Linked DNA regions of Homo sapiens: regions 2 and 3 are each linked to region 1. The links are contacts of gene promoters, found by promoter capture Hi-C in blood cells and fetal thymus (Javierre and others, 2016). All regions are on one chromosome and are shown on one strand. Each heading gives the region's core, a stretch centred on a gene start or on the middle of the fragment in contact. The rest is flanking DNA. Distances are from core to core; before and after follow the strand shown.

What was found. Contacts are between HindIII fragments. The CHiCAGO score rates a contact against its expected background, and 5 or more counts as called.
Region 2: a contact is called between a fragment that was not itself captured here and the fragment with the promoter of DENND2C in region 1, in 7 of 17 cell types (total B cells, megakaryocytes, naive B cells and 4 more). The highest score is 9.0, in total B cells.
Region 3: a fragment that was not itself captured here is called in contact with the fragment with the promoter of DENND2C in region 1 in 1 of 17 cell types (naive B cells); the score reaches 5.3 in naive B cells.

What each region holds. Positions count from the first base shown.
Region 1 is chr1:114,668,582-114,671,863 of GRCh38, reverse strand. DENND2C (DENN domain containing 2C) reads left to right here and starts at 1,815. Exons shown (of 21, transcript NM_001256404.2): 1 at 1,815-1,881. It overlaps LOC124904354 (a long non-coding RNA gene), which reads right to left and starts at 1,453. Exons shown (of 2, transcript XR_007066465.1): 1 at 1,214-1,453; 2 at 910-1,015. RefSeq lists an enhancer at 1,442-1,601 and a silencer at 1,722-1,811. The HindIII fragment of the contact is 6,814 bases long and covers 1-3,282 here.
Region 2 is chr1:114,349,889-114,353,170 of GRCh38, reverse strand. No RefSeq gene overlaps it. Among named protein-coding and RNA genes, the nearest start is that of TRIM33, 160 kb to the left of the region's middle. RefSeq lists enhancers at 1-170, 171-671 and a silencer at 10-304. The HindIII fragment of the contact is 218 bases long and covers 1,672-1,889 here.
Region 3 is chr1:114,404,598-114,407,879 of GRCh38, reverse strand. It overlaps TRIM33 (tripartite motif containing 33), which reads left to right. Exons shown (of 20, transcript NM_015906.4): 14 at 780-939; 15 at 2,121-2,470. Among named protein-coding and RNA genes, the nearest start is that of TRIM33, 100 kb to the left of the region's middle. The HindIII fragment of the contact is 2,497 bases long and covers 294-2,790 here.

The DNA.
Region 1 (3,282 bases), core at 566-3,065:
CTGCACGTTTCTATATTCTACACATGCAGCCATAAGCATAGGTGTAACCCTGATGGCATGTTTGTACTAGCTCTGGTGTAAGAATCTCTTCCTGATTTCTGAAGTTGAAGTTTTGTTTGTTGAGTATTTGTGAACCCTTTAAAGAACCAGATTTTATTTTACCTTGGCCTCCTCATCATCAAAATAGTACAAATTGCTACATTAAACACTGTATTCTCAGACTTCAAAGGGCATTAACTACCATTATGTATATCTCCATCTTACCCATGAGAGGGCAGTAGAATACATACATGTGAATTCATTTATTAATCTATAAATTTGGTTTCATACGTGATACTTGGAATTCAACCTGCCTTATTTTGCCAAATAATCTTCCTGAATGCAGGGGTCAAAAAATACATTTCTGGGCTGGGTGCAGTGGCTCATGTCTGTAATCCCAGCACTTTGGGAGGCTGAGGCAGGAGGACTGCTTGAGCTCGGGAGTTGGAGACCAGCCTGGGCAACATAGCGAGACCCTGTCTCTACAAAAAAATAAAAATAAAAATATTAGCCGGGGGTGGTGGTGCATGCTTATAATACTAGCTGCTTGGGAGGCCGAGGTGGGACGATTCTTTGAGCCTAGGAAGTTGAGACTTCAAGTGAGCTATGATTGGGCCACCGCACTCCAGTGTGAGTGACACAAAGAGACCCTGTCTCAATAAATAAATAGATAGACACATTATATAAGAATTTTTTTTTTTTTGGTGGGGGAAGCCCATAATGATCAGTGTGCAAAATTTACTACAAACAATATCCACATTTATTTCCTCATTGGGACATGATTTTTTTTAAGTATGTCATTACTTTTTTTTCCCCCATCATAGAATGTAATTTCTGTTTTACTGTCTACAGGTGATAGTTTCACAACGGTTTGGGATATGCTACCTTTATTGTTTGGGTTAAGTTTGCTTGTGACAGTCATCCGTGATACGTAACTAAACACCTCTCTTTCTGGTAGTCTTCTATTTTGGTACCTCTGTGTGAACAAATGTAGGAAGAGTTTGGTCACCAGACCCAAGAGGCTCTGGCTGGGTGGGGTGGGGTGGGGTGGGGCGGGGCGAGGCGGGGTGGGGTGGTTAGCGAGTGCCTGGGAAACAGGCTCAACTGATCCTTGTCCCGCAGCCTCGGTGAAACTGGGTTACAGCTTGCAGTAGGCACAACACCACGCACATACCTAAGCAAGAGCGTGTTGCAGGCGGAGCGCTTAGGCATGTGTGTCTCAACAGGGCGTGGGGGCTGACCTCACGCACTGGGAGTATCAAGGCACCCCCGTTCTGAGATTCCAAGCCTGAGGTGCCGCGAGAGTTATTTGCTTCTCTTGACGTTTCAAGTTGGCACCGTAGTGCAATTGTTTGCTCACTGAGGTCAGCCTAGGAAACAGTGCTTGGATTCCCTGATTAAGCCAGGCTTTATCTTGTTGAGTAGTTGTGAAGAGTAAACCTTCACATGAAGCATAGGGCCGTCTCCGTGGGGCCGATGCGACGGCAGGCGAAGGCGATGGAGCTCTGGCTCGAGGGCTTGGCCGGACGACGGTGACACTGGTCGCCCGCCTGCTGGAACTGCAGTGACCGAGGTCCTGGCAAGGTTCTGGCCATACAGCGGACTTGAGGCGTGGTGGTTCCCCTCACCGCCGGCCGGGGCGGTGTCGGAGGCGGGCATAGCGTGAGGGGTGGGAATAGGAGCCAATAAGAACTGAGCCTTGCCAGGGAGGGCGGGGCTAGGGGGTGGGGCTGCAGCCGGGACGGGGCCTTCGGCAGGGCCTGCGGGGGCGGGACGGAGCGGACCCGAGTGATACCCGGGAGACTAGCTTGGCCACAGGAGACAACGTTGAGGTACAGACAGGTAAGAGTCGGGGTGATTCGGCGCGGGGTTTTAAGCCGCAGGGGCTTCGGACTCTCGGGGCTGTCGGCATCACCCTTCTGGGCGTCGGGTGCGGGGCTGTGGCGCCGCGGCGTAGTCCTCGGACGGTGCGAGCCGAGCTGGCGGAGGTGGTGTCTCCGCGCCCCGCTGTCTCGGCACCTCCTCCGTCCGGAGGAGCAACCGGTTGTTGGGCCCAGCTTTGGGACGTCCTCTCGTGGCCGCACGGGTTGTGGCGGAGCCTGGCTGAAGACCTCCTCGCTACCTCAGGGGCTTGGGGACCCCTAGGCTGGGCGCCGCTCTCTGCTGGGGAAGAGGGAGGGAGCGCCCGGCAGCCTGGGGAAACGCGGGCTTTCTCCAAAATTAGCCAGTGAGCTTGAACTTCGACATGCTGGGACGATGCACTTCCAAACAATATTTTGCTTTTTTTGGTGTTTTGATTCTTAACAGCATCTAATACGCACAATACCGAAAGTTGTCAAGTAGAATTTTAATTTAAAAGTCTGACAGTGGAACACCTAAGAGCTTTTGAGTAACTAGAGCTGTATAGCAGCTGATGATTAGATTATGAGTCAAAAGGCTCAAGTCTAGGGCCAGAACCCGCGGAACCAGATGTGATACCTCGGCCAAATTAACTTCCTGGGCCTCTCTTTCCGTAACTGTGAAACTGGCAAGTTCATGCCTATGGGTATTCTCAGGGTCAAATCAGATGAGTGACAGTATTCTACAAATGTCAGATATTTGAACGTGCGTGTGGAGCGTGTATATTCTGTGAAGCAACTACTACTTGCCTGGTACATAGTAGGCACTTTACAAACGTTTACCCTAAAGCTAGTGATTCTTCTGCAGTGTTTTAGATAAAGTGATAGATCCTTGCTTACTGTGTAAATAAGTTGTTTAAACTTTTCCCACAAAGTGACCCCCATTGTTTGAGTGTGTCCTATTTTTAAATGATTGATGAAATTTTCTAGAATAGCACAGTGGTGTTATCTATACACTGTTGCTGAATCATTTACCGCGAAGTCTGTAGCAATCAAATAATCTACTTCTTTGTCTTAGCTAAATAGTTGTAGTTTAAGATACCTGCTAAAGTAAGCTGGGAATATTGTTCCAAATCAAGACTTTAATTTGTTTTTGTGAATTGACGGGCTGCTTATAGGAAGATTTAAATCTTCCAAAATATTGTTAATATATAGCCATATTTTTTCATACAGCCTTTATTATAGACGTTTTTGTTCTTTACTATGGATATGTGTGCGAGGGATTTTAGCGGGGAGATGGGAAATAAAAAAGAAAATGGCAGTTTTGTAACCTGTAGGCTTTTGCTGGGGATACTTGTAGGCCTGTTCTGAGTTTGCCAGGCAGAAACCAGGAAATGTAGTAATT
Region 2 (3,282 bases), core at 531-3,030, 320 kb after region 1:
CCCAATCCTCTCCTGTAGGTCTCCTAGAGAAAGACATGATTGGGAAGCAGAAAGGGTTTGATAGCTCAGCCTTCCCCATCTCCCCTTGGCTGCTCAGCGGAGCTGCCTCTTGAGAAATGCTGAGCTGCCTGCCAGCCCGTGCAGCCTGTCAGCTCCCATCTGCCAGCCCCATCTGCTCTTCCCCAGCCACACTGCTGTTCGCTGCTGCTGCTGGGCCCTCTCCTATCATCTCTGGCTCGGCCTCTACTTGCTGCCTCTCAGCTTCTCCCCAGGGAGCTGGTTGCCCTGACTTCCTTTGCACCTATTCTCCTCCTCCTGCCAGTTTCGGCTCAATTACCCTCCCCACACCGACTCATTCCTCCTGCAAGGGGTCTGAGGCTCCACTATCGAGCAGTCAAAAGGAAAAAAACATGGAGCCTTGCCTTTCCACCACACACACCACCTCCAACTCAGGCAGGCAGTCTCCCTGCTGAGGTTGAGGAGGGCAAGGCCTGAGGGTCTTACAGCAAGACAGGTCTCCTTAGGTGGGCAGCAAGCTCCTAGGCTGGGAACGGACAGAATCTTACTGCTCAATGGAATCTCAGATATCAAGTCTAGAGGCAGATGGGGAACAGCAACCCTGGAGGAGAGGCATATTGACCGGGGTGACACTGTTGGCTCCCTACAGAGCAGAGACTGGAACACAGGTTTCCTGACTTCATCCAGCCAATATTTACTGAGCATCATCTGTGTGCCAGGCAATTGATTAGATCCACACCTACCTCAAGAAGCTCATGGTCTCGTTTGCACTCCCAGCACAGGGCTCTTCCCAGTCACAGCTGCTGATATAGGATAAGTTTTAAGGCATTGCTATAAGCAAAAATGATTGCCATCTTCCTAACTTCATGCATGGCAAGGGCTTAAATGTCCTCACATCTTTATCCAACAAATTGGTCTCACTTTTCCCAGCCCCAGGTTTACAACAGCAGGGTTCACACAACCATCCTTTTTGCTTGTGGGGTGAGATTGTCCTAGGGGTGCTGGAGAATAACCTGGGTTTTACGCAGTGGTGATCAGGAGACCCCAGAGGCTTTGTCTCTGCAGCCTGCCTGCCTCCGACATGTTAACAGCAATCAGTATGATTTTGACCAATTTTTCTGACTTCACAGTTCCCGGGAAGCCCTTTTCTACATCAGACAGTTCCCTGTGAGCAACACCAGCTTTCCCAATGCCCTAAAACTATGTCCCCCACTTCTGTGACTTGATGTGTGGGAGACCACCATTAGTGTCTTTCCACAAGGTCATGTATTGTCATATTGATTCATTGAATCCAAAGACCTCTAGAAAAGTAACAATAGCCAACATTTATGAAATGCTCATTTTGTTCTAGGCCCTGTTTTAAGCACTTTTGGTGTAACAATTGTTTTAGTCTTCCTTGATGATTATGAAGTGTGCTACCATTATTAGTCTCATTTTAGAAATGAAGAAACTGAGGTTTAGAGGAGTTAAATAATTGCTCAAGATCCCAGTTGCTGGGAAGTGGTAGACCTCAGATTTAAACGCAGCTAACCTGACTTCAAGTCTATGCACTTCACTGCTATACCTCCCTGCGTTTGGTGCATGAAGTCACTATGACCTTGGTACCAATTCATTCCTCTGGGGCATTCCTCCATGGCAACTATAGAACAAGCTTTCGGGTGGGATGTCTACAATAATTGTGTAGGTGGGGAGGTGGTGATCCATCTTGTCCATCAGTTCCCATTGCCTCTGGGCCTGGCCTGACATGAGTTGGGACAGCGTCCACCACATCAGGAATGTGGCACTTGCCAGGGCCCAGGAGCCAGTGGCTGAGGTGTGGGGTGGGTGGATGCCTGGGAGCTCGGAGATGCTGGAGCACGTAGGCTCAAGCTTGCAGTGCTGGCCTGTCTTCTACTGCTTTGCTCTGGACATGTAAGAAAACTGCGTCCCCAGCCTGGCCAGTCAACAAGCCAAGAGAGTGGCATAGGTGGGTGGCAGTGGATGGAGGGTGCTGAGCACAAAGGCCAGCACAACCTCAGTACCCTCCACTCTCACATGGTCCGACTCCTTTTAGCCCCAAGGAAGGGAGAAGAGAACATGCTGTTTGGAGGAGGCCGGGAAGAGCCCTGGAGGCACCGACTGGCCTCAGGATACTCCCATGCTCCTGGGGCCCTGGAGCAGTGCCTCCTCTACCTACCAAAGTTCTTTGGAGCAAGGCAGGGGATGGGCAGGCATCTGAAATTGAGCACCAAATGACAGGGGTGGGCAAGGGGGCTGGGCGGTGAAGGGCGCTGCAGGGAGGACTCTGGTGGAGCAAGGGCCACTGACAATGTCTCCTCACCATCAGCACGGAGATCCCTGCCCAGGATCTGCAGCCCTGTCCCCATTGGTCTGCACTCAGGGGAGGCTCAGATGTTAACATCTCTGGTTCTTTTAGAGACTAGGACAGGACAAAAGAGGAAAGGACGCATTTGCCTGTGGATGGAAGAGGCTAGCCAACAAGAAGGGCACTGTCTCTAAGTGGTGGGTTAGGAGAGGGTTGACAGCTCCTGCACGTGGCCACCAAGTCAAGTCTCTTTCCCAGCCTCCCTTACCTGAGCAAGTCCTGCGAATGACAAATGAGCTGAAATCATACACCTTAGTTCCCAGAATGTTATATTCTTGCACTTAAGAGGACTGAGTGTGTGTTCCCATGTCTTTCCTGGCCTGCTGGCTAGGCATTGGCAAGGACTGTACTAGCCATTTGCAGCTGCAAACGGAAGCCATGCCTGAGGATGGCAGAGCCACACACCAGCCCTGGACCACTTGCCTACCTCCGGACTGTCACCTGGAGAGAAACTTCTTTCTTGTTTAAGCAGTTTATCCTTTGCCGGAGGACACGTGCTTCCACGTGGAAAGGCAGAGTGGAGCAAGGAGTGGTGGGTGGGCATTGCAGGATGCTTCCATCCTGACCAAGTAGACTGAATGAGGGACTTTACCCAGCTCTGGAGCTGGAGCTCCCATTTTCATGTGGAATTCATTCAGCAGGACACCGGCTATGTCCGCAGCCCCTTCAGGAGAGTGGCCTGAAGGACAGCCTTCTTCCTAGTATCACTGATGAGACCTGGGCTGGGGGAAAGCGGAACCCGAGGACACCCTGTGCCTGAGCTGGGAAGCAGCCTGCAAAGATAGGCTGGGCCAAGCAGATGCTCTTTTTGAACATAAGAAAGAAAGAATCTGCCGGCCGACTATCGTGCCGGAATAATGACATGGATAAAGTGAGCTGCAAAGTTCACAGAAAACATT
Region 3 (3,282 bases), core at 293-2,792, 260 kb after region 1:
TGTCATCAACTATTGGGTTATAGGAAAGATAGGATAAATTCTTTCTGTTTATTTCCCTGCTTTTGTGGTAATGAATTGATTTCCAACACCCTCCAACAGTGACAGTTTTATTGTTATTACCTTTATGGACTGAGATATTTAAACATACTTTATATATTTTAATCCATTATATATGTTACGTCTGTATGTATGTATATTGAACACTGAACATTATTCCATCTTTGTCCTGTCAAAGCTTTCTCAGGCTTGCTCCTTAGTCCTTTTGCTATAATCACAGCAGTCTTTTTTAAGCTTCCATGTTTCCTGTGAAACAGCATTTCGGGTTCATTTTGTACATTTCATGCTTCAGACCTGGAATCAGCCACTTTCCCAGGAAGTTCTGGTAGTGTTAGCAGGAAAGCAGGAAAATAGTGTTTGAGGATAATATTCTAGTACTAATAGCACTCATTGCTACTGAATTGTTCATTGTTTCTTAGGCCTTTTCAGTGGACAGAGCTAAGAAATAGGAGTGTGTGTGTGTGCGTGTGTGTGTGTGAAGAAAGTGCTTCAAACCATAAAATGTGTTTTTAGGGTCTTCTGAAAGTTGCTGCATAATTTTAAAGAGTTTTAAGCTAGGCTTTATACCACATTCCCCTTAACTACATTATGAGGTATCCTTATCTTCTGTAAAGTTAATTGTCTATTGTCTTCACTTTAGTGAACATTACTTTTCATATAATTGTTTTTATTTATACCATATAGTCAAACGTATGTGATCTTTATTTGTTGTTTCTTATTAGCTGTGGGTCATCAGGAAGAACTGCTGAGAAGACAAGTCTTAGTTTCAAATCTGATCAGGTGAAGGTCAAGCAAGAACCTGGGACTGAAGATGAAATATGTAGCTTTTCAGGAGGTGTAAAACAAGAAAAAACAGAGGATGGCAGGAGGAGTGCTTGCATGGTAAGCTCCCACTGGAGTCTGACAGGGACTTAAGGACATCACTTCATTGATTCTTTCAGCTCTGAGTATATTAAGACTAAGTAGTGGGTCTAGAAACATTTATTTTTGAAATTTCATGCCTGGCACAAGCCAGATATCTCTTTTTCTAACTCAACTTTTTTGTCTAAGAGTCAGCTGTAATTAATCAGAAAAGACTTAATTGTATTAAGTACTCATTTGAAATTATCTTTGAATTTGTATTTAGTCAATATTCTTCCCATGATGCTAAATCAGATTGTATCTTGTCCTGAAATTATTATTTCAGTAGTCACATTGAATCTCAGGCCACAAAAGATCTTTGGGATTCTCCTGGACCTGTGAGCTCAGCATTAAGATTGCTGACATGAAAGAAATTTATTGATCAGAGTTTTGTGATAGGAAGTTTGTCTTTTGGCTTACGTATTACTAATCATTCTGGAGTTCCTTGAGTGGAACATTTATAAAATTTCTAATACAGAATGAAGGAAGGCCAAGCCCCTCTTGGTTTAAATATTTTGATTTTTGTTTTCTCTTTCTGACCGGGCTTCTTTTTCCTTTTTTATATGGTTGGCACATGGGAATTCATCTCAAGGTATTGGTATATTTAACACAGTATATATAGATTCAGAGAGCAAGAGATTCAGCCTTGGTTTTGGAGTATTGTTACGTCTTCATCCAGAACTTGGTTTAGAAAGTACCCCCATAAAAAAAATGGGTGCCAAGGTTGGTGAACAATTTCTTTTATGTTGTTGCAGCCTTCCTACAATATAGTAGAATGATAGGTGAGCAGAAGAATATTATAGAATGCTTCTAAAATGCTATGCAAAAGATTCTGGGTGTGAAAAGGGGTGTGCCATAATTAGCTCTCTCAAGGAAAAGTATAACCCTATGCTCACTTCCCAATCAATAGCTTAACAGTTTAATTAATTTACTTATTATTTGAGTGAGACATTATCAGAGGAGCAGACCCCTTAAAATCATATGTTAGCGTGCCTGAATAATTTTGGGGTTATTGTCATTTCTTTATGGCACTATTGTGATCTATAAAATAAATTTGTTACGTCAGTATATCTATATGCATATTCACATAACTGTTAAATACACATATGGCATACAATAAAGATTAAATGATTCTTCAAGAATTTGTCATCGTTTTGTTTTAGTTGAGCAGTCCTGAGAGTAGCTTGACACCACCTCTCTCAACCAACCTGCATCTAGAAAGTGAATTGGATGCATTGGCAAGCCTGGAAAACCATGTGAAAATTGAACCTGCAGATATGAATGAAAGCTGCAAACAGTCAGGGCTCAGCAGCCTTGTTAATGGAAAGTCCCCAATTCGAAGCCTCATGCACAGGTCGGCAAGGATTGGAGGAGATGGCAACAATAAAGATGATGACCCAAATGAAGACTGGTGTGCTGTCTGCCAAAACGGAGGAGATCTCTTGTGCTGCGAAAAATGTCCAAAGGTCTTTCATCTAACTTGTCATGTTCCAACACTACTTAGCTTTCCAAGGTACCAGTGAAATAATTGATTTTTGGTGTTGATTTTCATAAGCTAAAAATAAATAACAGAAGAATGTTCAGGGCAGATGGCCTTCTAACCAGTGCATAGTATTTCTATAAAACAGGGAGCCTGTTATTCTTTTGGTATTAGCTTCCAGAGAAACTAACAATAAAATATCTAAGATCTAAGTAGTACATTAATGTTAAAGAGTAGATTTCATCTCCTGGCCTTTAGTTTATATTCAGTATAAGGAAAATAGATAAAACTCTAAATTAATAGGGGGCTAAGGTTACAAAACCTGCAGTCTGGTTCTAATTCTGTAGTAAGCTTGAGCAATTCACTAATTATCAGGGATCAGTTTTTGCATCTACAAGTGGTAGGTTTTGGTTTAGCAGAGCTGTAGTTCTTCCCTTCCATTTATTATTTTATGTTCATGCAACCTCTTGTCTCTTGATTTCAGAGACCATAAAATAGTAGAGTCATACTTGTTTTTTTCAGTCTTCTCCTTCCTCTCTTGTCCCCCAATTTCTTTTTGGTGAAAGTAAGTCAGTATTCTTGGGGTAAACCCAGCTTTTTTCTTGCTATAAATTGAAAAAAAAAAAAAAAAAAGATATATCTTCTCAAATTCCTGAGAAGCAGTAACTTTAATTGAATAATAGTGCCCTCTTTGAAAGTGTTAACCTTTTGGATTAGAAAACTAGTAGATATTTAAACAGTGCCAGAATATTTTTCTGAAGAATTGTAATTTCTTACCTAAGTCTTTGGAGATAGAGTTATTTGCTAGAGATGTAATAAGGGCCTTCTTTTTCTTTACTCTTATT